5 separate regions of the Homo sapiens genome follow, and all the other regions are linked to region 1. Evidence: promoter capture Hi-C in 16 types of primary human blood cells and fetal thymus (Javierre and others, 2016). All regions are on one chromosome and are shown on one strand. Each heading gives the region's core, a stretch centred on a gene start or on the middle of the fragment in contact. The rest is flanking DNA. Distances are from core to core; before and after follow the strand shown.

Region 1 (6,095 bases), core at 982-3,481:
CTGACCTCAGGTGATCCACGCGCCTCGACCCCCCAAAGTGCTGGGATTATAGATGTGAGCCACTGTGCCCGGCCAAACATGTACATCTTTACATATACCCCAAATGCCTGGAGGCAGGCACTGACCCCCAGGCAAAAGAGCAGGAATTCTTTATTTTAATGTAATATCTGGGAAGCCATGGCAGTGAGAATGCTGGAGCTCAACTTCAATCCTCTTCAGTCTAGAGTTTAGAAGACCGCTCTCTGCCCACGCCCCTTAAAGTGTAGCTTGTAAGTCAAGAAAGAATCAAGGGTTCAAACAATTTGGCATGATAAATTGGAACTATTTTCTTTTCTTTCTCTTTCTTTTTATATTTTATTTTATTTCAATAGTTTTTGGGGAGCAGATGGCTTTTGGTTACAAGGATAAGGTCTTTAGCAGTGACTTCTGAGATTTTGGTGCACCCTTCACTGGAGCAGTGTACACTGTACCCAATGTATGGTTTTTTATCCCTCATCCCCTGCATCCTTTCCCCTAAGTCCCCAAAATCCATTGTATCATTCTTGTGCCTTTGTATCTTCATAGCGCAGCTCCCACTTATAAGTGAGGATGTACAATATTTGGTTCTCCATTCCTGAGTTATTTCACTTAGAATAATGATCTCCAACTCCATCCAGGTTGCTGTGAATGCCATTATTTTGTTCCTTTTTGTGGCTGAATAGTATTCCATGGTGTATATGTACACCGCATTGTCTTTATCCACTCATTGCTTGATGGGCATTTAGGCTGGTTCCCTATGTTTTCAATCGCAAATTGTGCTGCTATAAACATGCGTGTACAAGTGTCTTTTTTGGAACTAGTTTTTTTGCCCAGGCTAGAGAGCAGTGGTGCAATCTGGGCTCACTGCAATCTCCACCTCCCAGGTTCAGGCGATTCTCCTGCCTCAGCCTCCTGAGTAGCTGGGATTACAGGCGTGTGCCACCACCTGGCTAATTTTTGTATTTTTAGTAGAGATGGGGTTTCTCCATGTTGGCCAGGCTGGTTTCGAACTCCTGACCTCAGGTGGTCTGTCCGCCTTGGCCTCCCAAAGTGCTGGATTACAGGCATGAGCCACCAGAGCTATTTTATATACTATTTACTCCTACATACTCTGAGGTCTCAGTTAGCTACACTTTATCTTGTTCTCAACTATGATTGGATAACCAAGAATCAGCAGACACTTGAGGAAGGCTCATAATATAGAAGAAGCAGACAACAAAACAAAGATGTGACCACTGAGTGGAGGGATATAGTTCAAGGAACAGAAGAGAGTTTGAAAACATCAGTAATCAAAGAACCAAAAAAACTTTTCGAAATAAAAATACAGTCTCTAAAATCAATATTTGATCCAAGGATTGGAAGGGAAAGTACAAGCATGAAATAAACAATATAAAAAGCTCCCCAAATGTAGAACAAAGCCCACAGATATGGAAAATATAAAACAGGAGAGAAAAAATGAATCGATTCAGGAGGGAAAGGGAGAGAAAGAGGGAAGGGACCATCTAAAGAAAGTGGGGAGAGACCGGGAAAGAAGTCAGTTCGGGCGTCAGCAGAACAAGTAGATTACAACAGCAGCCAGGGGAAAGTGTGCAGGGATAGGGAGGATGAAATCAGGGCAAGAGGAGGCTAACGAGAAAAGGCAATTTCTCCATTCCTGACCTTCCCCACTGAGCCCAGCTTTGGCTTCAGAGTGATTTCAGAGTGGCTTCAGAGTGACTCATGATCCCAGTGGAAGTGTTCCTGGGGGAAGGGGCAGTGGGTCAGACAGCCCAGGGCAGGAAGAGGCAATGAGATGTCTTACAGTGGGGCTGCCTGGAAGAAGCCTGGGGCATGGGCTTTCTCCAGCAAGGCTGGGTGTGAGTCCTGTGCACTGTGGTCTTCCCAAAGTGCTCCTCTCCCTGCACTCCTCATGGCTGGCCTTGTCCGTCCTCTCCTCCAGGCAGTAGATCCCGCAGCTCCTCAATGCTTGGGTTCCTCCTGGCTCCTCCTGCTCCTTGGCTCCTACGTGCACTCCCGTGCAAACCTGACCAGTCCCGGACACATTTTCTTTTCCACATGCACAAAAGTTTGGGCACACCTTGCAACATACACTGTACCTTAGTCTTTTCAAAGAATGACACCTCTTTTCTCCTAATATGTAAAAAGAGAAGTAGCTACAGATGTAACAGGAAGTGAGCAAGAGACTTGAAGGAGATTCGAGTAGGTTTGCGGTGTTGACTTCCGAGCTTGGATTCAAGTCCCTGAAGGGCACCAGACACCTGTGATCACCAAGGAGAGGAGAGGAGACAGGACCATGTGGCTGTCCCCATCTCTGCTGCTTCTCATCCTCCCAGGTGAGTGTGGCTGGAGCTTTAAGGCACTGGAATGACAGCGGCTGGCTTGGAGACAGAGACGCTCTGTTCTCAGGAAGGAGACATGTCAGGGAAAATGACAGCGCCAATTCATCCATCCATGCCCATATTCATTAAATAGCAATCAAGTTTTTGTTATCTGACAGGTTCTGTGTTAGATGCTGCAGAAACAAACACACACAAAACAAAACAAGTATAGCTTCTTGTTGGAACAGTGGTTCTCAACCCTGACTGTTCCATATAAACAGATGAATGAACAGATATCAATGAAGGAAGGAACTAATGAGTGAGTCCATTCTTGAAGAACTTTTTTTTTTTTTTTTTTTTGAGCTGGTGTCTCGCTCTGTCACCCAGGCTGGAGTGCTTCTTTCACTTAGCATGATGTTTCAAGGTTACTTTGTGTTGTAGCACAAATCAAAGCTTCATTCTTTTTCATGGCTGCATAGTATTTCACAGTGGATATACCACATTTGGTTTCTCCAGTCATTTGTCAATGAACCTTAGGGTTGTTTCTACCTTTTAAAAATTGTTAGTAATAATGTTATGAACTTTCATAGCACAGTTTTGTATGGAGATATGTTTTCAGTTCTCTTGGGTATATATCTAGGGGTAAAATGGCTGAATCCTATGTTAATTCTATGTTTAACTTTTTGAGGAAGCATCAAACCTTTTTCCCAAGGATTTATATTTGAGTACAGCTTTGGCTGTCATGTCAACAAATTTTGATACGTAGTGTTTTCATTTCTGTTAAAATGTAACAAATCTATGTGCTTCTCATATTATCTATACTCAGATCAAGCTTTGTAAGAAAATTTTTCCTTCCAATCTCAAATTTATTTTCTTTTAAAATAGATTATTATTATTATTATTATTATTTTTATTTTTTTTTTTTTTGTAGAGATGAGGACTCACTTTCATGCCCAGGCTGGTCTCAAACTCCTGGGCTCAAGTGATCCTCCCACTTTGGCCTCCCAAAGTGCTGGGATTATAGGTGTGAGCCACCATGCCTGGCTTCAAATTTATATTCTGTAAACAATTTTCAGATATATTCTCCTTCCTTTCCTTCCTTCTGAGACAGGGTGTGCTCTGTCACCCAATCTGGAGTACAGTGCTGGGATCAGGGTTCACTGCAGCCTTGACCTCCCAGGCTCAAGCCATCCTCCCACCTCAGCCTCCTGAGTGAGTAGCTGGGACTACAGGCATGTGGTGCGACACCCAGCTAATATTTATTTATTTATTTAGTCTCGCTATGTTGCCAGGGCTGCTCTCAAGCTCCAGGGCTCACGCGATTCTCCTGCCTCAGCCTCCCAAAGTTGTTATATTACAAGTGTGAGCTACCACACCCAGCTCTTATTTCTTATAAATAACTTCCAGATGTAGTTTTTCTTTAAATATTTACCTTAATTGTTGTCTTTCCATTCTGATGTAGAACTTTTTTCAGAGTGAACAAATGAAGCCCCTATACCCATCTTTCCCCAGGAGGTCGTGTGTAGTTTCTTAGTTCCCTTCAGATGCCATAGAAAGCAGATTTGGGCATGGAGTCCAATTTCTGTTCCAGGAATTCCTTGGGTTGTGGAGCTCTGCCTGTTTATGGTGAAATTGTCTTCCGCTCCCACCATGGTGACCCTGGTTTTTCAAGACATTCCAATGAAGTCTAAAGTTTTCATTCATCCAGGGGTAATAATAATAATAATAATAATAACAAACATAATATAGTAACATAGAGGTAGATGCCATTACTATTCCCACTTATAGAAAACGAAGTCACAGTGTATTAGTCCATTTTCACGCTGCTGATAAGGACATACCCGAGACTGAGTAAATTACACAGAAAAAGAGGTTTAATGGACTCACAGTTCCACATGACTGGGGAGGCCTCACAATCATGGTGGAAGGTGAAAGGCATGTATTATATGGCAGCAGGCAAGAGAGAGAATGAGAGCCAAGTGAAAGAGGTTTCCCATTATAAAACCATCAGCTCTCATGAGACTTATTCACTACCACGAGAACAATGTGGGGGAAACCGCCCCATGATTCAATTAACTCCCAACTGGTGCCCCCCACAACATGTGGAAATTATGGGAGCTACAATTCAAGATGAGATTTGGGTGAGGACACAGACAAACCGTATCACACAGAGAGGTTAATTTGCCCAGGTTCACAAAACTTATCAGTGGTAGAGCCAGGATTCAAACCCAAGCACTCTGGCACAGCCTGAGCTCTTACCCACGACCTTGGGTGTCTCTTGGCGTTTCAGAGACAACCTCTCTCCTGCCACAGGAATTGCCCCCAGGGCTTCTTCAAGTGCTCCAATGTGCTTCTAGTTCCATCTCAAGTTTATGCTGCACTAATCACAGCTATGGTTTATTGCCAGTGCATAAATCATCAAAATCAATCGTTTCTTTAGATGGGTCTCCCTTTAGGTCAGTTGAATTTAAAGAATTTCTGGCAAAGCTCTCACTTAAGGTATTTCCACTGTTTTGAATTGTTTTCAAGTGAAAGATTAGGCTGACAAGTTCATGGAGACTAGTCTTGTCCTGGATCAAATTGTTTGAAAAGTGGAGCTAATTAGGTATGCCCGTTCCTCACCCTTTAACTGACTTGAATCATGTCCATTATGTTTAGAGAAGAACTTATAAGATGCAGAAGGGTGTTGAATGGGTGCTGCTCTGTTTATACCTAACCTTTACTTGTGTTTATCTTAAAAGTTAGCTTTTCCTAGGAATTTTGGAAGTGGAATTTATAACACTGTATGGCGAAATGGAGATCTGTGTGATGTGGATCCCATAGCAGATAGAGACCAGTTGGCATCACTATTTGGTTGATTTCAAAGGGATTCATTCAGGGTGATTAACTACAGCAGAGCCACCAGAAACCATTAGAACCACTAGGAACAGCCAAGCATCAAGGCAGCAATCATTCTTCTGGAAAAGGGCCTTCTGCCATTTCCTCCCCATCAGACCAGTATAACACAAAGATGGTTGCCAAAGAGCATTCCTTGGAATATAAAGATTTGCTGGCCATAGGGAAAGAGAGAGGGGTGAACTGCAGGAAGCTATTATTGCTCAATGCCAACATTTGTGTTTCTTTGGGGATCTGCAGTTGTGCTCTTCAGTGATTTTCCTGGTGACTTTGACCCAGTGGAATTTTGAAGGACAAAGATTTGTCTTGAGGAAAATGTATTGCTTCCTTGACTGTTATAAGGCAGTTGGATTTGGCTGCTACTCCCAATGCACGAGGCTGTGGCCCTGCCCTTGGGGTGGGAGGTGACGACACATGAATTTGCGTTTTCCAGGTTACTCCATTGCCGCTAAAATCACTGGTCCAACAACAGTGAATGGCTCGGAGCAGGGCTCATTGACTGTGCAGTGTGCTTATGGCTCAGGCTGGGAGACCTACTTGAAGTGGCGGTGTCAAGGAGCTGATTGGAATTACTGTAACATCCTTGTTAAAACAAATGGATCAGAGCAGGAGGTAAAGAAGAATCGAGTTTCCATCAGGGACAATCAGAAAAACCACGTGTTCACCGTGACCATGGAGAATCTCAAAAGAGATGATGCTGACAGTTATTGGTGTGGGACTGAGAGACCTGGAATTGATCTTGGGGTCAAAGTTCAAGTGACCATTAACCCAGGTAAGAGGGAGTGTATATACGTGTGTGTCTCTCAGGTCCTGCTCTGTCCTGGTCCCTGAGGTCCCACTTGAGTAAATTAACTGTCACTCAGA
Region 2 (5,442 bases), core at 1,360-3,859, 200 kb after region 1:
CGATCTCGGCTCACTGCAACCTCCGCCTCCCGGGTTCAAGCGATTCTCCTGCCTCAGCCTCCCAAGTAGCTGGGACTACAGACAAGTGCCACCATGCCCAGCTAATTTTTGTATTTTTAGTAGATACGGGGTTTCACCATGTTGGCCAGGATGGTCTCGATCTCTTGACCTCATGATCTGCTTGCCTCGGCCTCCCAAAGTGCTGGGATTACAAGCGTGTGCCACCATGCCTGGCCTCACCTTTTAAACTGTTTATTTTTTTAAAATAAGTAACATGTTTGCCTAGTTCAAAAAAATTTTTTGAATTTTTATTGTTTTTAGAGATGAGGGTCTCACTGTGTTGCCTAGGCTGGAATGCAGTGGCTATTCATAGACCCCATCATGGCTCACTGTAGCCTTGAATTCCAGGCTTCGAGTGATTCTTCTGCCTCAGCCTTCCAAGTAGCTGGGACTACAGGCACGTGCCACCCGGCCCAGCTAACATATTTTAAAATGCTCAAGTTACAAAAAGGTATATGCTTGCCTCTGTATAGCTAATGAAACCAATCTGGGGTATCCATCCGGAGATATTCCTTAGCACACACATTAGACCAGCATAGACATTGCTTCTCTGTTACCCTCCTTTACCCAAATGGGAGTGTGCCATTTCATCCATTCATCGAGAATTGAAACCAGCCAGCCCCACAGCCCGTTCTGCTCCTCAATTTCTTTTGTTTTGTTTTTCCTCTTTCCAATGTATCTAGGACACGGTTCCATACTCGTCCATCAATGGTTCCAATTATCTGTTCTGCCTACTGTGATCCATCGCATGGGGACACCGCAAGTGTGGAACCAGTCACCTATGTAGGAGCCTCCAATCCTTTGTCATTATTACAAACAATGCTGCCTGGGTCATGTCATAAATGTGCACGCATAGCTAGGTGTTCCGTTTGTACAGGTAGAATCGCTGGGTCAAAGAATTTGTGCACTTAGTGGATAGATATTGCCAACTTGCCTTCCGAGGAGATTGTATCATTTTACAGCCTGCTAGCAAAGCGGGAGAATGGCCTCCCCTTCTTGCCAAGTGAGTGTGTCCTGAAAGCTTGCATCTCTGCCAATCTGCTCTGTGGAAAATGGGGTCTGGGTATAGTTTTCATTTGCACTTGTCTCCTGCTAAATGAGGTTGAGCGTCTTTTCAGCGTCCAGCCCTATGGCTGGCTCCAGGTCCTCTCCGTACACAGCCTTAAGGCTGTGGCCTTGCCTGTGACTGGCTCTGCAAGATCCAGGACCAGATTTGTGTTTCTATCTTCCGGCTTCTCGCTGAGTCACTCCCAAGAAGGAAAGGGCAGCAGGCTCAGGTTATTTCTGCCTGGGCCATCTGAGCTGCCAGTCCTGGGAAGACCTTGGCCTCCTGCACTCCCAGTGGGCGCCCGGCACCTGTGCATTGCACCTGTCAAACCCAGGCTTCCTGGTCCCCCTGGGAGGGATAGGGGCTGGCAGATAGGGATCAGGCCAGACATCTTTGTAAACTAGGCATGAAAGGACCCAGCTAGACTGCAAGAAGGAGGATTTGGAAGAAAGCAAAATGTCACTAAGCTCTAAGTGACAAAATGAGAGCAATGAGGCTGAGTGGAGGGAAGAGACTTAGGCTATTGAGAGGACTTTGGGCAGAGAGGGTGGTGAGCCACCGCCGAGGGATGGTAAACTTGGGAACAGCTCTCACTGGAAGTCACGTGAGACGCACTGTGTAGCTTCCACCCTGGCTCCGTGGCTCATCGTCACTTCAGGGTTAGTGCTAAGAGTTGCCTAGGGTGGGAAGTAGAGACAGCCTCTTGCCTGTGCATGGAGAATTCAGGCCACGCATGCGACCAGCCAGAGGCCTGGGGAAGCCCCTCTCTCCACAGGGACCCTCTCTAAGCAGGGTCTGGGCATCTGCGGGGCAGCTCTGGTCAGGTGGTTGTAATTTAAGCTCGGGGCCACCCTGTACGTCTGGCTGAGTCTTGCTCACGGAAGGATGAGAGAAGCCAGGAGAAGCTGGTGGCTGGATTCCTGGGCCCCTAGGGAGTCTGCAGCCTGTTATTTCCTGACTCAAACAAAAAGTAAATTTGCACTGGAAATTGCTGAGGCAGAGTCATCCTGGAGCTCCTTGAAGGATGGGGACTTGTAATTTTCTAACTTCCAGGGCCTCTGACCCCTGGTTGCTGGGCTTTTCCATCTGTGAGCTTCATTGAAGACCCTGGGGCCTAGTCTAGGCTCAAACACCATCCACAGTCAAAGCTCCCCTGCCTGCTCTGCTGGGGCCGGCAATCCCGAGCTGGACTTCAGAAGTGGACAGGGAGAGAGGTTTGCTGTATCTGGGACCCCATTTCAGTTCCATCCAGGTGTCCCATGCTGCTGTGTCAGAGGGAAGATGAGCCACTGCTGATCTTTACCCCAGCCCTGACCAGAGACCAACACCGTTGCGGCAGGTGGCATCCCAGGTGGTGGGCAGGCAGTGTGGGGCCACCTTCCTGAAGCCAGCTTCTCAGAGTCTCTCAATGCCACATTACCAAGCAGAGTTTTCAATAACTGTAGCTAGGGATGCTCTCCTCCCCCCAGTTCTTCAGTCTCTCTGGGGGAAAAACACAAAAAGTTGAGGTTGTCCCTGGGGCCACCACGAAATGCTTAATTGCTTTCTGAGAGAATTGTCACCTCTTTCTGCTTTCCTCCCCCTCTCCACTGCTCTTCTCTCCTCTCCTCCGACCACTGGAGGCTCTTGCTGGGGGAGCTGGGGCTGAAGACATGAGCTCCCTGACTGTGTCCCAAGGGAACCGGGAGCATGTGCTGACTCGCAGTCTGCGTCTCCAAATATATTGCTGCACCACCTTTGCTGAAAAAAAGAACCCTATGTTTTGGGGGAATAAATGTTCTTTTTGCTGTGAGCCAGGCACTCTTTGACAGCAGATGGATGATGGCCCAGGCCAGCTGAGTCAGCCAGACTTTGGAGCAAGCAGTGTGAACCAAGACAGGGATGGGAGCCAGCCGAGGAAAGTGAGGTACAGGGATATTTGAAGGTTTTCATCCTGGGAGTTTAGTCAGCACCTTGTGCAACTTGATTTACACTGGGGGCCAAAGAGGGATGTGTATTATGAAGGGTAAGCTAAAAAGCAGTCACAGATAGACTCCCAAATGTATAATAGCTCAAATACCTTAGGAATTTATTTCTTAGTCACATAACAGACCAAGACGAGCGTTCCTGATTGGTCAGTGGCTTTCCTCCACGTGGTGATTCAGGGACCCAGGCTCCTTCCATCTCAGGGCTCTCCCCTTCCCCAGGGTCTCGTTGGTACCTATATCCAGCTGGCAAAGAGGAGGGAAGTGATGGAGGAAGCACACCTGCTTCTGATGCCTTGGCTCAGAGGGGCTGCACAGCTTTTCTGCTCACATTCTACTGGTAGGAATTTGTCACGTGGACACACCCAGTTGCAAAGGCAGCTGGGAAATGTAGTCTCTGCTCTTAGTGACAATACTGTGCTATGAAAGGGGTGTGCAGATTTTGGTAGACAGCTAACCATCTCTGCCACACGTCCTAAATCAAGCCATTTAGGTCACAAGACCGGGAGAGAGAGCAAGTCATTTTGAGTTTCTGTTTTTGAGACAGGGTCTCACTCTGTCACCCAGGCGGGAGTGCAGTGGCATGATCATAGTGCACTGTAGCCTCAACTTCTTGTGCTCAAGCCACCCTTCCACCTCAGCCTCCCAAGAGCTGGGACTACAGGTGCATGCCACCAGGACCAGCTAATTTATTTTTATATTTTGTAGAGACAGGGTCTCCCTATGTTGCCCAGGTTCGTCTCAAACTCCTAGGCTCAAGCTATCCACCCGCCTTGGCATCCCAAAATGCTGGGATTACACGCACGAGCCACCGCGCCTGGCCACTCTGGGTCTTTAATTAGGGAGTCCTGCCTGAGTAACTTGCTAAAAAGGATTTTCCTTTTGCCAAGGATTGGAAGATCCAACAGCATCAGAACTGGGCAGAAATACAGGGGAAAATTAACAGAGAAGAAAACTAATAAGAAACCTGGATAATGATAATAAGAAGCTGTGCGATTCCCCTGCAATTGGTTTATCTGTACATAGTTCATGCCCAAACTTCCCAGCCTGAGCACAGAAGCTTGGGCCTCTGGCAGAAACCGTGCGAGCAAAGATGTGGACGGTTCTCTGTGGAGGAGGGGCACAGCCAGAGTGCAGGGTGAGGCTGCAATTTCAAGGCTGTGGGAGAAATCAGAAGGCCTCATTTGCCTCCTCCCCTGGGATCAACATCCATGCCCTGGAACCTTCACTGTGCAGGCACCTGTATTAGGTATTATTTCTGCATAACAAATTGCCACAAATTTAGCAGCCATTTATTTGCTCACGGTTCTGTAGGTTAGCCATCTGGGGCAGGCTTCACTGGATCTCTGCTTAGGATGTCAGGAAGCCAAAATCAAGGTGTTGGTCAGCCTGGGCTCTCATCCAGAGGCTCTAGGGAGGAATCGACTTCCAGGTTCACTTAGGTTGTTGACAGAACCCACTTCCTTGTGGTTGCAGGACTGAGGTTCCTGTTTTCTTGCTGGCCGTTGGCTGGGCGTCTCTCTGAGCTCCTTGGGGCTGTTCACAAGTCCTTTCCATGTAATGCTTCCTGCATCTTTAAAGCCAGTGAACGTGCATCCCATTCTTCTTGTGCTTAGAATCTCTCTGACTTCCCTTCTGCTATTGGAGAAACTCTCTGCTTTTAATAAGCTCGTGGGATTAGATCCAGCCCACTCAGATAACTGACCTACTTGGAGATCAACTGATTGGTAATGTTAATTACACTGCAGATCCCTTCTGCCATATAATATAATATCATCAAGGGAGTAACACACCCAGGGACAGAGATTGTGAAGCCATCTAAGAATTCTGATTCCCATAATGTCCAAAGCTGTGGGTCTGGGACCCAGAATGGCCTACATTGAAGCTAAAAAGACTTTTGCTTTCTGGCCAAAGAGTTGCCCCACTTGGTTGCACCCAACCATGGTGAGGTAATTGCTGGGCCTGGTCCCAGCTCTTCCCATATACACAGGAGATCTAGAGACAGAGAGGAAATGGCCCCTCCCCCTGAAAGCTCCTTTCTCTTGTCAAAAGACAAAATTACAACAAATTTAAAGATCTTAATTGGCTTTTACTTGGATTCTAGAATTGGGCAATATCTCACCTTACACTATAGAATGAGTGTTCGGATTGAGCTGAGCAGTAGAGGTTGGCTTTGAAAGCAGAAACAGAACAAACATCAGATTTCAAAGTTATTTTCCTTGTAAGATTAAAGCAGAGGGGACTTCCTTATCATGCTGGCTAAAACTGGCCTGTTTGGGGATCTGGCTATTATCCCTCACTCTCCTGATGTCTCAGAATGTCAGATAAACAACTTAGTGTCAGCTGGGTGACGCAGAACTTCAGCATGAA
Region 3 (5,473 bases), core at 2,934-5,433, 250 kb after region 1:
TAGCAAAGTCACACAGGATTTGTGGCCTGAGTTCCCAAGTCTCACGGCTACCCCCACCCTGGCCCCTCCGCCTTGCCTCTCAAACCTGCTCACCCTGTCCCCTAAACCCACTCTCCTTGTCCCCCCAAACCCTGGACACCTTCTGCTTGCGCAGTTGCTTCTGCTCGTCCACCAGGGCTGCAATGCTCTCCCGGGCTGCGGCCACCTCGGGTGGCTCCAGGATGTCTGGTTGGTCATCACCTGTGTCTGAGTCCTTCTCGCTGTCGTCCTTAGCGTAGCACTCCTTTCGCTGCTCCTCCCGCCATTTGAGGGCCCGGCGGGACTTCTCATGCTTCCAGCTGCCGCAGCCCCACCCAGAGAGACAGGGCATTCAGGCCATGGGGGCAGGGCACACTGTACAGCCACAGGTCGTGCTCCTCTGTCCCAGGCACAGGGGTGGGGCCTGGAGGGTCCTGGGAGGGGGGCTTACCCGGCGATGGTGAGCAGGTGTCGGGAGGTGTCAATCTGGACCTCCATGGCGCGGTTCTCCAGCTCCAGCAGGCGCCTCCGCACATCCATCTGCTCCTGGAAGGCGCTGGCGAGCTGCTCCCGAAGCTGTCCCATGCCAGCCTTCTCACCCTGCCCGCTGTGCAGCTGGACCTCAGCTGCCGATGGGTGAGGGTGGGCAAGGTAGAGGAGGCGGCAAGTTCAGCTAGCAAAGCCTGGGCCCACCTGGGCCCCTCCCCTCCTTTTCTTCCCAACTCAGTGCTCCCACTTCCTGTCCAACTGCTTCCTCCAGGAAGACCCCCTAGATTACTACATCCTCCCAGACCCCACTCCCACATTGAGTCTTCAAGCTGTTGCCCAAAAGCAATTCCCAGCTCCTTGGTATGAACTGGGCTCCTGCTAACCCTTACAGCACCTCTGTGCCAACTATAAAAAGGTGCCCCTAGAAACTACCGTCTGTGGCCAGGCACAGTAGCTTACACCTGTAATCCCAGCACTTTGGGAGGCCTAGGCAGGCAGATCACCTGAGGTCGGGAGTTCGAGACCAGCCTGGCCAACATGGTGAAACCTCGTCTCTACTAAAAATACAAAAATTAGCCAGGTGTGGTGGCGGGCACCTGTAATCCCAGCTACTTGGGAGGCTGAGGCAGAAGAATCGCTTGAACCCGGGAGGCAGAGGTTGCAGTAAGCCTAGATCATGCCACTGCACTCCAGCCTGGGCAACAGAGCAAGACTCTGTCTCAAAAAAAAAAAAAAATCTTTACTGTCTGCCTCTCTCTTTATATTAGTAAATTTTTTTTTAAAAAAAGCTTTACTGTCTGTTGGAAAACCATCATAGCAAATATGCAGGTCTACAAGGAAACGGAGCCCATTCCGGGGGTGCAGGCATGACCTCGCAGCCCTACGCCACAGCCCTTAGTGTGCGCCCTGCGCAGCTCATTGCTCACGTGCCTCTCCCTCGTGGGATCCCACCTACTCTTCCAAGGTGGGGTTGGGAAATCGGCTTGTGATCTCTGGTAACTGTCTGAAGCAGAGATCACAACCCCATTTAACAGCTGAATGCTAGGAGGCTCAGAGCTGGTGAGTGCCTAGCTCAACCACCCAGCCAGAAAGAGCCCGATTCTGGATTTGAACACAACATGGCCTGATCCCAGAGCAACGTGAGGCTGGCCGGAGGGGGCTGCCACTCACACAGACCCACAGGCGCACCTTGGATGTGGCGGATGTCACCCCGATCCTGCCGGCCCCGGGCCTGGCCCCGCCCAGTCTGCTCATCAATCTTGCGCTTGAGTCGCTGGATCTCGCCCCGCAGGTCAGCGATGATGCTGGTGTACTGGGCGATGTGGTAGGAGACGTTCAGGAGGTTCTGCTTCACCTGCAGGGAACACGTATGGAGCGGAGGGGATGCAGTCACCCCAGGTGCACTCACCGAGGCCTGCCTGCAGGGCCTTTCTTCCCCCTGCCTCCCCCAGTCTTTCTGGGTGACAGTAATGGCCTCCTTTCCTCCACTTCCACAACCTCCTGTCACACTCACTGCTAGATCTCATCAACCTTCAGTGGCTTCCTAATGCCTGCGGGGAACGTCCTCATTCCTCCACCCGTTGTTGAAGGGCCACCCCCATCTCTCTGATTTTCTCTGGGCTCACCGCTCCTGCATGAACATCCCACTCCAGTTGAAGACCTGTCCTGCTCTCCCCATACCCACCACAGACGCCATCCCCTTCCTGCCTTTGGAACCTGTGCTCTCCCTGCTCCCACCTTTCTGGAATGTCCTCCCAGCCTTCAGGGTCCCACTCACAGTCTCCAGAGAGTTCCACTGGACCCCACCAGGCCACCCCCACCTCCTGTTCCTGTCTTGCCCCAGCACCTACCATTGGCATCATTTACCTGCTATTAGGAATATTCTGAACCATCAATGAGCTGTTTCAAGAATGTGTCTCCCGTCCCCCATTGAGGGGTTGGAATAAAACTTACAGCCCTCAGGGCAGCAGCTGGCAAGTGTTAGGTGTTGGGAGAATGTTCCCTACATGCTATCATACATGAATCCATTCCCACTCCTCCACACACGAACAGGTGGAAATGGATTTCTAAGCGGATGGCAAGGGTTCCGACATGCTTACAGACAGGTGAGGACACGGACTTGGAAACGGGGCAGATCTCATTTCCATCCTCAGCGCCATCACTGGCCAGCTGGGAAGTCACTTAACTTCCTTAAGCCTTGCTGTCCTAATCTGTACATGGGAACCGCAATAATACTGCTGTTTTTTGAGGATCAAAGGAGGTAGCATGTGAAACAGCTCAGAGCAAGTGCTCAATGAAGCTTGCCTCCTGTGATGACCATCATGAAGAGGTGCTTTGGAAATGCAAAGGTCTAAATGAGCATCTGAAGACGAGGAAGGGAAGAGAAGAGGGGATGAGGCAGGGGGAGCACAGTCCTGGGACTGGAGGAAGCGGGGACCCTTGGGAGCTGTCGGCTTCCCGGCAGAGGAGCAGGGTTTGGAGGTGCAGGGAAAGTGTACAGGTGACGATCAACTAGGGAATGAGGCCAGTGCAGCAGTGGCTGGTTCCAGAGAGTGCAGTGGGGTGGCAGGGATCAGCCCGGGGGCTTGAATCTCAGCCCAGGAAGGTGTGTCCTGGTGGACGGTCCAGGGGCCCTCACCCTAGTCTTAATGTTCTTGGCCCGGCCGGCGTAGGTCAGGGTGTTCCGGGACTCCTCGAAGGCACTGCTCGCAGGACTGATGTGAGCGATCATCACTGTGCGGCTGTTTCCTCCCAGAGAGTCCTGGATGGGAGGTGGCTGTGGTCAGTGGGGACTGCCTCCTCAGGCCTTCCTCCTGCCAGGCTGTTCACGATGCCCTCCCTGGCGAGTGCAATCTCTCTGTCTCTTTACACTTAAGGGACCCGGCTGCTGAGCGTCATATGGTGTGAGGCTTGGGAGGAAGAAAGCCCTGCTCCAGCAATTACCAGCTGTGTAACCTTAATAAAGCTCATTCACCTCTTTAGTTCTTTTTTTTTTTTTTTTGAGACAGGGTCTCGATCTGTCATCCAGGCTGGAGTGCAGTGGCGCTGTCTCAGCTCACTGCAACCTCCACCTCCCAGGTCCAAGCAATTCTCGTGCCTCAGCCTCTCGAGTAGCTGGGACTATAGGCGTCTGCCACCATGCCTGGGCAATTTTTGTATTTTTAGTAGAGATGGGGTTTCACCATGGTGGCCAGGCTTGTCTTGAACTCCTGACCTTAAGTGATCCACCTGCCTCGGCCTCCCAAAGTGCTGGGATTCCAGGCGTGAGCCACCACACCCGGCTTTCCTTGCTTTTTAAGGGGGCAGTCCTTTTGCAATTGTCCCCACCTCCCCGGCTTCTAGGTGCAGTCATGACGGCAGCTGCTGGCAATGTTAAGTAAGCGGTGACTCTGATATTAGATCAGGGAGGCCTCTGACTGGATCCTACTTTCAGCACTTACTAGTGTGAGCCCTTAGGAACATTACCTAACTGAGTTGTGCCTCAGTTTCCTCATCTGCAAATGTAATCCCTCAAACTCATAGAGTTGTTGACGAGATCTAAGGAGCTAATAGAGTGAAGTACTGAATTCAAGAGACCAGCCAGGAGTGGGCGCTCAGTGATGCTGCTATAATTTAAGGCCAAGGACACCCCTGCACAAAGGAGGCCACCCCCAAACAGCTGACCTGTGGGGCCATGAGGCTGACTGCCCACCTGCACCCCCAAATCTAGACGGCTCTGACCCACAGCCCTGGGTGGGGGTATCACGTGCTCCTTTTCCTTCCCATTGCCCAGCCTTTGGTTAGGGTCGTCAGATAAAATACAGGATACCCAGTTAAATTTGAATTTCAGATATGCAATTACTTTGTTTTAGCATAAGAATATCCCAAATATTTCATGGGACATATTTACGCTAAAATAAATTTTGCTGTGTATCCTGAGGTTGGAATTTAGCTGGGTGCCCTGTATTTTCATTTGTTTAATCTGGCAGCCTCACCCTTGGTGCCCAGTGCCCAGGCCCAGCTGTGGCTGGTACCTTCAGGAGCCGGGTGAGCTTGCTGTCGCGATAGTTGATGTACTTGTTGCTACCCTTGTCGCTCAGGGCGTTGATGCAGTTGCCCAGTGCCAGCAGTGAGCGGTTGATGTGGGCCCCCTCCTTCATACGCTGCCCACGATTCTGTGTCTAGGGGGCGAGCAAAGGGCACACGTGTGGCCTGATGAGGCAGGGGACTGGGTTTCTCCCCAGCCACCCCACCAATGAATGACCTGGTGATCCTGGGTAATAAACCCCCAAGGACCTTGTGGCCGTCCTCCTGCCAAGGCCACTGAGGGCATTGGAGAAGGTTAAGAGACCCAGAGGCCTCTGAACAAGAGTGATGGGCTGACAGCTTCTGAGGAGGGCTGAGATGGCCGGTTCTCCTCAGGGCAGGTGCCGTGGCACGGCCTGACACACAGTGCCATGGATGAGATGGGAGGGAGGTTGCTTTCCAGGCAGCTCAGCTGGGAGCCGGCAGGACCACTGGTGCTCCAGAGGGTGCTCCAGGGAGCAAGGAGGAAAGTGCGTGCACATGTGCATGGTGGTGGAGGGCAGGTTCTTCTCCTTTTCTTGGGCCTGCAGGAGCATGTCAAAGCCGAGGAGGCCCTGCCTGCAGCTCCCCTTAGGAGGTGGCTCTGCCCAGCCTGGAGAAGCCGGGACCAGCTCGCTCCAGTGGCTGAAGGGCACTCTCTCTCCTCCCAGGCCTCTCCCCTGTGTGCCTTCCAGGAAGCCCCCCAGGCTTTACTGGAAGGGAGGGGTAAGTTTCTTGAACCTGCCCTGTTCGGATCCGACCCCAGATGTTCAAAGACAAAAGACTGCTCATTCTTTCTGGCACTGTCATTTCCCTTGCATTTGTTCCAGTGCCAGCAATGGTGACATCACCCAGCCTCATTGCTCAGGTGACCATAAAACCCCCAAGATTGCCTGCACGAGGGAGCCCAGACCTACACCAG
Region 4 (6,051 bases), core at 3,141-5,640, 150 kb after region 1:
GCCTGGGTGACAGAGCGAGACTCCGTCTCAAAAAATAAAAAAAGAGAAAAAAATTACCTGAAAAATACTTCCTTTTAAAGAAAACTAAGGTGATTATGGATACATACATAATAGAAAAACAAGTTCTGGAAGGATAGTATTAGTAAAATATGTAAAATAATAGACACGCACACACAGCAAATAGCTAATTCTTCAAGAGTGCTTTTCATGGGCCGGGCACTAAGTAATTTTTTTTTTTTTTGAGATCATCCAGGCTGGAATGTGGTGGTGCAATCACGGCTCACTGAAGCCTCAACCTCCTGGGCTCAGGCAATCCTCCTGCCTCAGCCTCCTGAGGAGCTGGGACCATAGGCATGCACTACCACACCTGGCTAATTTTTGAAATTATTTGTAGAGACGGGGCCTCACTATGTTGTCCAGGCCGGTCTCAAACTCCTAGGCTCAAGCTCCACTCACCTCAGCCTCCCAAAGTGCTGGGATTACAGGTGTGAGCCATGGCGCCCAGCCGGCACTAATTAATTCAATCCTCACAAGAACCCTATGAAATAGGTACTGACATTATCCCCATTTTACAAATGGAGAAACAAAGGCACATAGATATTATATCAGTCAATAGTGGTCACTTCTGGGGATGGAACAGGATGGGACGGGTAGGACTGGGGAGGCAGCTGGGGAAAATTTCATTTTATCTGTAATGTTTGAAATTTTACAGTGAGAATGTATGCATGAATTATATGAATATAGAAAAAAAATCTTATTTATTTATTTATTTTGAGATGGAGTCTTGCTCTGTCACCCAGGCTGGAGTGTAGTGGCTCGATTTTGGCTCACTGCAACCTCCGCCTCCCAGGTTCAAGTGATTCTCCCGCCTCAGCCTCCCGAGTAGCTGAGATCACAGGCATGAGCCAGCACACCCAGCTAATTTTTTTGGATTTCTAGTAGAGACGGGGTTTCACCATGTGGATCAGGCTGGTCTCGAACTCCTCGTCTCAAGTGATCCACCCGCCTTGGCCTCCCAAAGTGCTAGGATTACAGGCATGATCTACCATGCCCAACTGAAAAAAAAAAATCTTTAAATTAAATGGAATTTAGAGACACTTAGGCAGAAAACTACAGAAAACCTCAAAAACTTTCCATTTTGCTCAAGAGACTGGCTCCCTGTCCTGCAGTAAAAGACATGGGATGGAGAAAGGGGCCACTGGGGGCATCCACAGAGACCCACCTGCAACCGGCTCATCCATGGAAAAGGCCTTGTTCTCCACGAACATGCTCTGACCCTTCTGCTCTTTCAGGATGGTCTCATAGCCCACGCCCCGGGTGGGGTACATGTCCCCCTGGTAGCTTTGCTCTGGGCTGGACTTGGTCACCTGGGAGACCTCGGGGATGACGTAGAAGAGGACGAAGGCCCAGGCATTGGCGGCGAGGGCGATGGCCAGCGTGGGGTCATCCCAGGTGGGACTGTTGTGCTGCTTGTTGCCGTAAGTATACATGACGATCCACACCACCCATATGGCAACGGAGGTGGCTGTGGTGAGGAGCACAAAGACCCCATGCTTACGCCAGCGCTTGTAGCGGCCACACAGGGCGGGCCAGGCCCCCAGGAAGGCACCCAGCAGCAGCAGCATGACGTAGATGAGTGCCATGACAAAGTCCATGTTGGCGATGGCACAGGGGGAGGCCACGGCCCAGCCTGCGCTGCTGTTGCCCTGAGGGCCGCCCTCGCCACTGCCCCGAACCAGGGTGATGATCAGCCACTCTGTATTGATGATGACCTCTACCAGGGTCAGCAGCAGAGCCACAGTGAAGATCACCCAGCCCCGGGGCCCGTGGTTCTTCCGGGCCAGGAAGTTGAGGGCAAAGACGTGAGCCGCCAGACAAGAGAAGCAGATGGCGAACAGAACCCCAAAGAGGAAGCGCCGAGAGGCACAGGTGGAGAAGTCGGGCTTCACCACACAGGCAAACACGAGGCAGAAGAGGCCCAGGGTCCCCAGAAGGAAGAATACCTGGGTCCCCAGCAGGCTCCGTTTCTTGGTGTCCTGCACAAAGGGGAGGCTGGCCACCAGGATGATGGTGAGCACAAACGTGGTGACAATGCCCGCCCCAGCCACGGCCTCCAGGACGATGCCCCACGCCCCAGAGCGGTCACACAGGTTGTAGTACAGGGGGTTGAGGCCTTGGCTGCAGCCGGGTGGGACATGGCCCTGGGCCCAGGCCCCTGGGAACAGGAAGAGAGGCAGTCCCAGGCACATCACCAAGGCTTTGTGGATGGCCATCCTGGCTCCCAGGCCAGGCTCTGGTTGGGTCCCTAGAGACAGAAGGAAAAGGGACAAAATTAGTCCTCCAAGATCAGACTCCAATATACATGGTGCTGCTTCCCCCAACCTAAACCCAGGCAGATAGTGCTAGCTGCTGACCGTGAGGCTCTCTGGACCTCAGAATCCTTCTTAACATAGAACCCCTGAGAGGCATTTCAACTGGCCACAGAGGCAAATGAGATGAAGCCCATTTGTCAGCCCTATTCCTAGCCATGGCAAAAGAAAAACCTGTCATTGAATTTTCAGTTCCCTCCCTTCCACCAAACATAACCTGGGTTCAGATATTCCCTGAGCTCTGGCGGCCACGGTGGAGGATGAAGGGGCTTGTGAACAAGTCAAGACCAAGCATACCACCCACCCAGTACCTCCTCTCTGCCCTGGGACTTTCAGGCTTCAGGAGGTCAGCTGCTATGCCCCTAAACTCCATTCCTGTGAGGCCTAAATCCACAGCCAGTCAGCTATGTGTTCATTCATTCATTCAATAGACTTAACAAGCAGCTGCAGCAGGCATAACCAACAGCCAGGAAAAATGAAGAGACAGTCATTTTCCCACTTTTAGTGCCAAGTCTCCAGTTCAGAATCCTCCATTTTTTGCCTAGCTCGGAAGCGGAAGTCAAGGGTGAAATAAACGAAGTCCCCAGCTAAGGAGTTAATGACTTAATGCAAAAATTTTCCTTCGGAGCATTAACATTTTAAAAGTAAGAACCAGGCAAGGGCAATGCAAAACCCAAAGGAATTAATCTTTAATAGAAGACTTTAAGACGTTGTAGCTAGAAGGCAAGAAAATTAGCTTTTATTAACACCAGCAAGGTAATTTTCACTCCATCTACTGACTGCCGCTCTACCAAATGCCACAGATCTGTGCCAGAGAAGAAAACCAAACTCCTGCTCCCAATACCAATTGGATTTTCCCACGTGAAGTGGAGGTAATGGATTTAACAGGTTAAGAAATATTAAAGACCAAATCAATGAGTTTTTTTCCAATCAAAAGTTTTAAATGTACTTGGAGGAAACCTAACACTGAAAATTTAAATGCTGCTGGGCACGGTGGTTCATGCCTATAATCCCAGCACTTTGGGAGGTCAAGGTGAACAGATTGCTAGAGTCCAGGAGTTTGAGACCAGCCTGGGCAACATGGTGAAACCCCGTCTCTATAAAAAACACAAAAATTAGCAGCTGGGTGCAGTGGCTCACGCCTGTAATCCCAGCACTTTGGGAGGCCAAGACTGGTGGATCACTTGAGGTCAGGAGTTCGAGACCAGCCCGGCCAAAATGGTGAAACCCCGTCTCTACTAAAAATACAAAAATTAGCCGGGCGTGGAGGTGCACGCCTATAATACCAGCTATTCAGGAGGCTGAGGCAGGAGAATTGCTTGAGCCCGGGAGGTGGAAGTTGCAGTGAGCCAAGACTGCGCCACTGCACTCCAACCTGATCAATAGAGTGAGACTCTGTATGAAAACAAACAACAACAACAACAACAAATATATATATATATATATATATATATATATATATATATATATATATGAATTAGCAGAGAGTGTGGTGGCATGCACCTGTAGTCTGAGCTACTTGGGAGGCTGAGGTTAGAGGATCATCTGAGCCCAGGGGATCGAGGCTGCAGTGAGCTGCGATTGCACCACTGCACTGCAGCCTGGGCAACAGAGCGAGACTGTTTCCAAAAAAAAGAAAGAAAAGAAAAGAAAAGAAAAAGAAAATTTAAATGCTTAAAGAAACAGGTTATACGTTTCAAAATTCTATGAATGCAGGTAGTCCACATTTAAGTCACCCCACGTGTTCAAATAACTAGTTGTAACCCAGCTTCATCAGGAACTCTCTGGGAAAACAGCAACCAAGCTTTCCTGGTCTGACAGTGACCACTAGTGGCTGGCAGGGGAATGGCATTATCTAACTCTCTTCTGTGAGGCTGCCACCCTTTTTCCTTTTTTAGGGGGATTGTGAGGTTGTTTATACATGGTTTACCTCCTTACTGTTTTCTACCATTCCTGGCTACTTAATTTCTAATAGGCAAACAAAAGCCCTAAATCCCACAGTTGATAGAAATTGTCCCTCTTTTCAACACAGAAGCAAAAAAAAAAAAAAATTCTGTCCATAATTGTTATGTGAAAGAACACTTACTAAATCAGGGGCAATGCAACTCATAAAATTAAGTGAAATGGACACAATAAAGAGGATCCATTTTCAAAGTCCCTTCAAATAGTCTCCATGCCACTTGAAAATATTTAGGTCGTCTTAGCCATCTCAGCTACCTCATCTTTCAATTAAGCTTGCTTAAGATTAACTCTTAAAATTAACTATCTCATGTAAATGTACTGTTGTTTTCCTAAATAACTGGCGTTCTAATGGCTAGTTTCTCTTTACTTCTAATGCAGGACTTAAATAAGCTTCTGTAGGGGACTTTGTAAATCAATAAAGCACCAACTGCATTTTATTTACAAGTGCTGGAAAGAGGAGTAAGAGAGGGCTAAGAGGTAAGGAGTAGGCTGGGTGCGGTGGCTCATGCTGTAATCCCAGCACTTTTGGCGGGCAGATCACGAGGTCAGGAGTTCCAGACCAGCCTGACCAACATGCTGAAACCACGTCTCTACTAAAAATACAAAAATTAGCCAGGTGTGGTGGCGTGCGCCTGTAATCCCAGCTACTCAGGAGGCTGAGGCAGAAGAATCCCTTGAACCTGGGAGGCAGAAGATTGCAGTGAGCCGAGATTGCGCCACTGCACTCCAGCCTGGGTGACGGAGCGAGACTCCATCTCAAAAACCAAAAACAACAACGACAACAACAACAACAACAAAAAAGGGAAGGCGTAATATGGACCCACTCCTGGGAGATAATTTATGGATAACAACAAGCTGTGGGATCCTAAATGTTCAACTTCATCTTGGGCTCCACAGCCAAACCAGCCAGAACTTGGGCTTGAAGCTGGACGTAGGGAAGAGAACCCTCAGAACTGCCACTTAGACTCCGGACACCTGCACTTTCAAGGGCTTTTCACCCCACCTCCCTCGGCCAGGGCCCAGTTTAGAACAGGCAATTACTCCAAATCAGCAAATATTGACTGTGCGCCTGGGAAGGAAAGGCCCTGTTGTTCCCAGAGCTGTGGAAAATACAAACATGAACAAACGTAGTCCCTGACTTGATGGCATTTAAAATCTATCAAGAGAGATAAGGTAGGTACTCACAAAAATTACACAAGGAAGAATATGATTAAGGGCCACACAACGGAATTTACCTGCAGGAGAGAGACAGGGGCTACAGGAACACAGAAGAGAAACAGGCAGAGTAGAGAAAGACTGTTCCGCAGAGTTTTACTCAGAATCTAATAAAAAAACATACCAGGTCCCAGACACTGCCAAGAGACAGGGACACCCAAAAGCTAAGCCCTGAAGAATGTGAGGAAGGACTGAGCAGGTGAAGGGAACAAGGAGAGGGACGTGCAAGGCAGAAAAGATGGTGTGAATCAAAGCCCTTTGAGCCCAAGTCCAGAGCAAGTTAAAAAAGAATTCAGTTTGCCAAGTATCAGCTGAGTCTGCAAAGGGAGGCTGCAGCTGCTGGCTGACACATTGGAAATGCTACAGGGGTGGGGCTGGGGGCATTATCCTAAAGGCAACAGGCAGCCACTGAAGGCTGCTTTTAGCATCATGGGGGCATAGCCAGGGTTGCGCTTTTAGGAAAAGAGTCTGGCAAAAATGCACAGGCAATCGATTTGTTGGGGGG
Region 5 (5,674 bases), core at 300-2,799, 180 kb before region 1:
TGAAGAGCTACCACGAGCCCCAGCCTCACAGTGTCCACTCAAGGGCAGCTTGGTCCTCTTGTCCTGCAGAGGCAGGCTGGTGTGACCCTGGGAACTTGACCCGGGAACAACAGGTGGTCCAGAGTGAGTGTGGCCTGGCCCCTCAACCTAGTGTCCGTCCTCCTCTCTCCTGGAGCCAGTCTTGAGTTTAAAGGCATTAGTGTTAGATACAGCTCCTTGTGGCTGGAAAACACCCCTCTGCTGATAAAGCTCAGGGGGCACTGAGGAAGCAGAGGCCCCTTGGGGGTGCCCTCCTGAAGAGAGCGTCAGGCCATCAGCTCTGTCCCTCTGGTGCTCCCACGTCTGTTCCTCACCCTCCATCTCTGGGAGCAGCTGCACCTGACTGGCCACGCGGGGGCAGTGGAGGCACAGGCTCAGGGTGGCCGGGCTACCTGGCACCCTATGGCTTACAAAGTAGAGTTGGCCCAGTTTCCTTCCACCTGAGGGGAGCACTCTGACTCCTAACAGTCTTCCTTGCCCTGCCATCATCTGGGGTGGCTGGCTGTCAAGAAAGGCCGGGCATGCTTTCTAAACACAGCCACAGGAGGCTTGTAGGGCATCTTCCAGGTGGGGAAACAGTCTTAGATAAGTAAGGTGACTTGCCTAAGGCCTCCCAGCACCCTTGATCTTGGAGTCTCACAGCAGACTGCATGTGAACAACTGGAACCGAAAACATGCCTCAGTATAAAACAAACATTATAAAACGAACGCGTTGCTTGCCGTGGCTCCCTTCGTACCATGTGTACCTCAGCAATGAGAGTTCCCTTGGGGCCACCCATTCCTTCCACCAGTCTTCAGGTTAATGAAGAGTCAAAGGTCCCCCAGGGCTTCCCCACCCAGCAGGTGAGATAGGGAGGGGCCCTCCACGACCCCTGTGGAGGGGAATCTGTCAGGGGCCAAAGGGTAGAAGCAAGGGTGGGGTGGGGGCAGGTCAGCTGAGCAGGGCACTGCTGTGGTAAGGGTTTTGGATGGTTCCTCTGACAAGGAGCAGGAGATGGCCAGATAGTGACTGGCCTGGGGGACACTGTCCACTCCCTGATTCCAGATCTACCTGCTTTACTCATTCCCCTCAGCCCAGGAGCCTATTTTCTGAGAGGTGTCCCTTTGGGTTGGGTGGAGACTAGCCTGGGGGCACCTTCCTCCTGAGCACCTGCCCGGAACCTCCCGGCTCTGCAGCCTAGCTCTTGCAAGCCACCTTCCTGGACCTCCAGATCAGGCTTCAGGTGCCAAAGGTATCAGGGACCTGGGTCTTTTGTTGGGGGCAGGGCACCTTGCCCTTGAACAGTCCCTTCCACCCCAGCTAGCCACACAGCATGTCCCCGGGCTCAGTGGACCGGTTTGTTTTCCCCTGGCACTGGACACTTGCCCTCCAATCAGGTCACAATGGCCAGATAAGATAGAGGATCTGGCACCAGCCCAGCCTGCCCCTGGGAATTCTGCACCCCACTGGCTATAGGCAGAAAGAGTAAAGCCAAGTCCTCACATTCCAAACCCAGCTCCATCCTGGGACACACTTTCCACGCTTCTGGAATTAAAGGAACCTCCCAGAGTCCTCTGAGAACGTTGGTCTGAGCTCCCACTTCCCCTTGTAAATATCCCCGTTAGACAAGGGGTCCCCAGCCCACAATCGGTGCTTGCAGCCCAGCACACAGGCACACTGACCACACCAAGCTGAATACCCGGCTGGGTGCATGCATCTTCCTTCCTACAGGACTGCAGCTAGGCCCTCTAGCTAAAGCTACCCAGGCTTGGGGTCACAGGGAGCCCTTGATGGCCCTCCCTCCAGTGTACCCCACCCTCCCAGCCAAAGACCACCTTGGCTTACCATTTCTCAATTTCTACCTATAAGGGGTCCAAGGCCAGAGGACAAAACTTCCAAGGAACACACGGAGGCTGAAGGGTTTGGAGGAACCAGCTGAATTTCTGAAAGTGTTTCCTTACAATGGTGGTACCTGGCTCAGGGATGGGCAGGGGTAGCCAAACCCTCCCCGTGCTGCCCAGTTCGCTGAGGGTGGGAGTAGGAACAAAAGTTTAAGGCTGAGGCCACTGCCATGCCCTGGATGTAACAACCAGGAAAATCATGTTAATCAAGGAAACAAAAATTCCTCTAGACTCTGCAATACTGCACTCTTAACAAAAATCAAATGAAAACAAGACGTGTCTGCCACAGGTCTCAGGGTAACAGATGCCCTGTCCACTGAGAGCGGCAGTTCTGCAGTCAGAGTTCTTTGATCAGCCCTGGACCCATTTATCACATGGGGGAGGAAGGGAGGGTGCCCTCTCGCCTGGTCCCATGATCCTGGCATGGTGCAGGTTCCAGCGATGTCCCAGGCAGGGTGGCAAAGGGACACCCGGTAGGATGAGGCACTCAGTGAGGAGGAGGGAGGCAGAGTCTCCTTTCTGACTGCGGGAGGACGGGAACACATTCACCTTCCCTAAAGTCAGGGAAGAACATAGTTCTCTAGAAAAATCATTTGTCAAGAAAGGGGATGTGGGTGCTGATTTGTACATTGATTCAGGGGAGTAATTGGGGAGAAGGAAAAAGGTGGGGTGGAATGCTGGCTCGGCCCTGCCAGTCACTGGGTGGCAGCAGGGCGCTCAGAGGTTGCTGAAGAGTTCGTTTTTCTTGCTCCAGTCCATCTGCGGGGCCCGTTTGCTGCTGCGTTTCTGGTGGGCCCTCTCTTTGGCCATGGCCAGGGAGATGTTGAAGTCTAGGATGGGGTCGGAGGAGGAGGTAGACGAGGGCGCTGTGGAGTCCTGTTTTGGGGGGCTGTCTTGGGAATTCAGCTGTAAAGAGAAGTGGGGGCAGGAAGTTGGGAGTCAGTCCCTCATTAGGCTCCCTGGTCCTCAGCCTTGGTGAGGTGGCTCCGTTGGGGCCGTGCCCAGGGAAGCCAGGTCACAAGAACAGAATGCGGCTCAGCATGTGACCTCAAAGGCAGGCTGGTGTGCCAGGAACAAGTGGGGCCTGGGAATCGGCTTCCTGTAACCCAGTTGCCACCCCCCGCATGGCTGGCCTACCTCCTCGCTGGTGTCACTGGAGGCGGATCTCACCAGGGCTGGCCTGGGGCTCTCCAAGGCTGCCTCTGCCAGGGCTTCACGACTGTTCTCCTGGCAGAGAGGAGAGGGTTGTGGGTTGTCAGAGGATGGGGTGAGGGGGTCCTGAGGAGGGAGGGAGCTCCTGGGGAAGTAGGGGCCTCAGACTGAGAAGAGGTAGCACTGATGCCCTGGCCACCCACCCCTGGTTCCCACCTCCTGAGCCTGCTGGGGCTCCTTTTTACATTCCTTTGGGGATCAGAGGGCAGGCTGGTTCTACTGCTCAGGCTGGAGGGATGGGATGGGAACAGACCATCATGGGATTAGCTGAACCGCTCCCTCTCCCTGGGCCACTCCAATGTGGCTTTTAGGTACTGGCTTGCCTTTTGGGCCAGTGACCAGGGAGGGGCTTCTTGGAATGTGGGGACACATGGGGGCATGGGGAGCCCATGTGGTGCTCCCTGAATCTCATGTGGTCCACCTGACTGTTTGCCAGGATTTGACCCCAGGAATCCTGAAACCCTAACCCTGAAGCAGCAAAGGAGGGCCTTGAAAGAAGAAGGTGGATGGAAAGTTCTAGATCCAAAGATGAGGTGAAAGAAGGTTGAGGGCTGGGTCCAAGGGCCCTCCCCCTTGCCAAGTACCCTGGCAGGAGCTCCTAGGGAAGGGGAACCTTTAAGCAGACCCTGCAGAGTTCCTGCTCTGTGGCCTGACTGAGTCGGCCTGTCCCAGAGCGAAGGCTTTGGCTGGGGCGTCAGCTTGGCACCCAGCCCCTTCCTGGGTTCCTCCATGGCTTCAGCTGGCGCCCAGCCCCACCATCTCTTCCCCGGGCCTCACCCCCTTTCCCTTCTGCCCAGGGAAGGGGGGAGGAGGGGCTTTGTTCTTCCAACCCAGACTAGAAGTAGCAGGGGCCCGGCTGCCCGTGGCCAGACACTGAAGCTCTGTTCTTGGGGGGAAGAATGGCCCCTTCTGTATGGTGGGGAGTTGGAGGCGGGGGCTTGTCACCCAGGATGGCGGGCTGCAGAGGGGCCCAGCCAGCCCGCTCCCTCCTGACAGCTTTGGCCCCAGGCAGAGGCCAAGAGGGTTCTGGCAGTTCTATAGCTTGGAGCTGAAGAAGGAGCTGGAACTGGGGACCCTGGGGTTTTGGCCTTAGTCAGATGGCTATCCTACCAACCACAGCACCTTCTGATCTGTCTCATGCACCCCAAGGATTGAAATCCAAAGAGACAGGGGACCCGCCCTTACCTTCTGTATCTCCCCATTGGTGAAGGGCACAGGCAGGGGACCTAGGCAAAGGACAGAGCAGAGGTGAGTCCAGAACGGGGATGGAATAGAGCGTGGAGAGGAGGTAGGAGTTGGGTTTGGGCAGATTATTAGATCTTGTTCCCTGGGTCAACATCTCAAACTTTTTTGACTACCACCCACCATGAATACATTTGCCTTATTTATTTAAAAAAAATTTTTTTTTTATAGAGATGGGGCCTTGCCATGTCATGCAGGATGGTCTCAAACTCCTAGCCCCAAGCAATCCTTCCACCTTGGCCTCCCAAAGTGTTGGGATTACAGGTGTGAGCAAATGTCTGGCCTACGTTTGCCATTTTGATGACTCAGCACACACAAAGATTTTGTGTGATAAAAGTTTCACAAAGCAACACCCTTACTACAGTGTTCTTTGATATTTTTAATTTCATTTCATTAAAAAAAACAAAAAAATGTCTGGGCCAGGCATAGTGGCTCACACCAGTAATCCCAGCACTTTGGGAGGCCGAGGCACCTGGATCACTTGAGGTTAGGAGTTTGAGACCAGCCTGGCCAACATGGTGAAACCCCGTCTCTACTAAAAAAGACAAAAAGAAAATTAGCTGGGCATGGTGGCACACGCCTGTAATCCTAGCTACTTGGGAGGCTGAGGTGGGAAAATTGTTTGAACCCAGAAGGTGGAGGTTGCAGTGAGCCGAGATCACGCCACTACACTCCAGCCTGGGCAACACAGCAAGACTCTGGCAAAACAAAACAAAACAAAACAAAACAAAAAAAACAAACCAAAAAACCTGCTGGTCTCTATCTACTAAATTGATCTTATGAGGCACTGATGGGTCACAAGGTGTTTAAAAAATGTATTGTCTCAGATGGGGATGAAATTCGAGGATGGCTGCCTAATTCCTACCTGGGAATTCCTACCTGGGAACTCCTACGTGGGAAGCTTGTTAAAGTACAGATTCCTGGACCTTGGCAGCACAGATTCTGGTTTAGTGGGCAGGCCTAAGAATCAACATTTTCCAAACGCTTCCCAGGTGATGATGATGACACCAAAATTGGAACCACACCCCAGACTATAGTTAGTACCTGCCTCAACTGAAAGAGAAAATAGTCTGGGCTCGGTGGCTCATGACTGGGACCCCAGCACTTTGGGAGACTGTGGCAGGCGGATCACCTGAGGTCAGGAGTTCAAGACCAGCCTGGCCAACATGGCGAAACCCTATCCCTACTAAAAATACAAAAATTAGCCGGGCATGGTGGCAGGCGCCTGTAATCCCAGCTACTCAGGAGGCTGAGGCAGGAGAATTGCTTGAACCCAGGAGGTGGAGGTTGCAGTGAGCCA

What was found. Contacts are between HindIII fragments. The CHiCAGO score rates a contact against its expected background, and 5 or more counts as called.
Region 2: a fragment that was not itself captured here is called in contact with the fragment with the promoter of CD300LD in region 1 in 4 of 17 cell types (monocytes, M2 macrophages, M1 macrophages and 1 more); the score reaches 10.0 in monocytes.
Region 3: a fragment that was not itself captured here is called in contact with the fragment with the promoter of CD300LD in region 1 in 1 of 17 cell types (M0 macrophages); the score reaches 5.4 in M0 macrophages.
Region 4: a fragment that was not itself captured here is called in contact with the fragment with the promoter of CD300LD in region 1 in 4 of 17 cell types (monocytes, M2 macrophages, megakaryocytes and 1 more); the score reaches 6.8 in monocytes.
Region 5: a contact is called between a fragment that was not itself captured here and the fragment with the promoter of CD300LD in region 1, in 1 of 17 cell types (monocytes). The highest score is 6.1, in monocytes.

Annotation. Positions count from the first base shown.
Region 1 is chr17:74,588,419-74,594,513 of GRCh38, reverse strand. CD300LD (CD300 molecule like family member d) reads left to right here and starts at 2,231. Exons shown (of 4, transcript NM_001115152.2): 1 at 2,231-2,351; 2 at 5,665-6,003. The coding sequence starts at 2,312. It overlaps CD300LD-AS1 (CD300LD antisense RNA 1), which reads right to left. Exons shown (of 3, transcript NR_171003.1): 2 at 3,769-3,995; 3 at 305-2,530. RefSeq lists an enhancer at 2,198-2,327. The HindIII fragment of the contact is 5,067 bases long and covers 1-2,791 here.
Region 2 is chr17:74,391,044-74,396,485 of GRCh38, reverse strand. No RefSeq gene overlaps it. Among named protein-coding and RNA genes, the nearest start is that of GPR142, 26 kb to the right of the region's middle. RefSeq lists enhancers at 1,342-1,842, 1,843-2,343. The HindIII fragment of the contact is 3,051 bases long and covers 1,084-4,134 here.
Region 3 is chr17:74,345,572-74,351,044 of GRCh38, reverse strand. KIF19 (kinesin family member 19) reads right to left here. Exons shown (of 20, transcript NM_153209.4): 8 at 4,521-4,667; 9 at 3,146-3,268; 10 at 1,696-1,861; 11 at 470-644; 12 at 140-338. Among named protein-coding and RNA genes, the nearest start is that of BTBD17, 14 kb to the left of the region's middle. The HindIII fragment of the contact is 2,750 bases long and covers 2,809-5,473 here.
Region 4 is chr17:74,435,999-74,442,049 of GRCh38, reverse strand. It overlaps GPRC5C (G protein-coupled receptor class C group 5 member C), which reads right to left. Exons shown (of 4, transcript NM_022036.4): 2 at 1,223-2,305. The coding sequence starts at 2,273. Among named protein-coding and RNA genes, the nearest start is that of GPRC5C, 6.9 kb to the right of the region's middle. The HindIII fragment of the contact is 430 bases long and covers 4,176-4,605 here.
Region 5 is chr17:74,765,620-74,771,293 of GRCh38, reverse strand. NHERF1 (NHERF family PDZ scaffold protein 1) reads right to left here. Exons shown (of 6, transcript NM_004252.5): 4 at 4,318-4,358; 5 at 3,058-3,147; 6 at 1,941-2,826. The coding sequence ends at 2,638. NAT9 (N-acetyltransferase 9) reads left to right here. Exons shown (of 7, transcript NM_015654.5): 7 at 1-765. Among named protein-coding and RNA genes, the nearest start is that of NAT9, 7.9 kb to the left of the region's middle. RefSeq lists a silencer at 290-389. The HindIII fragment of the contact is 7,456 bases long and covers 1-5,277 here.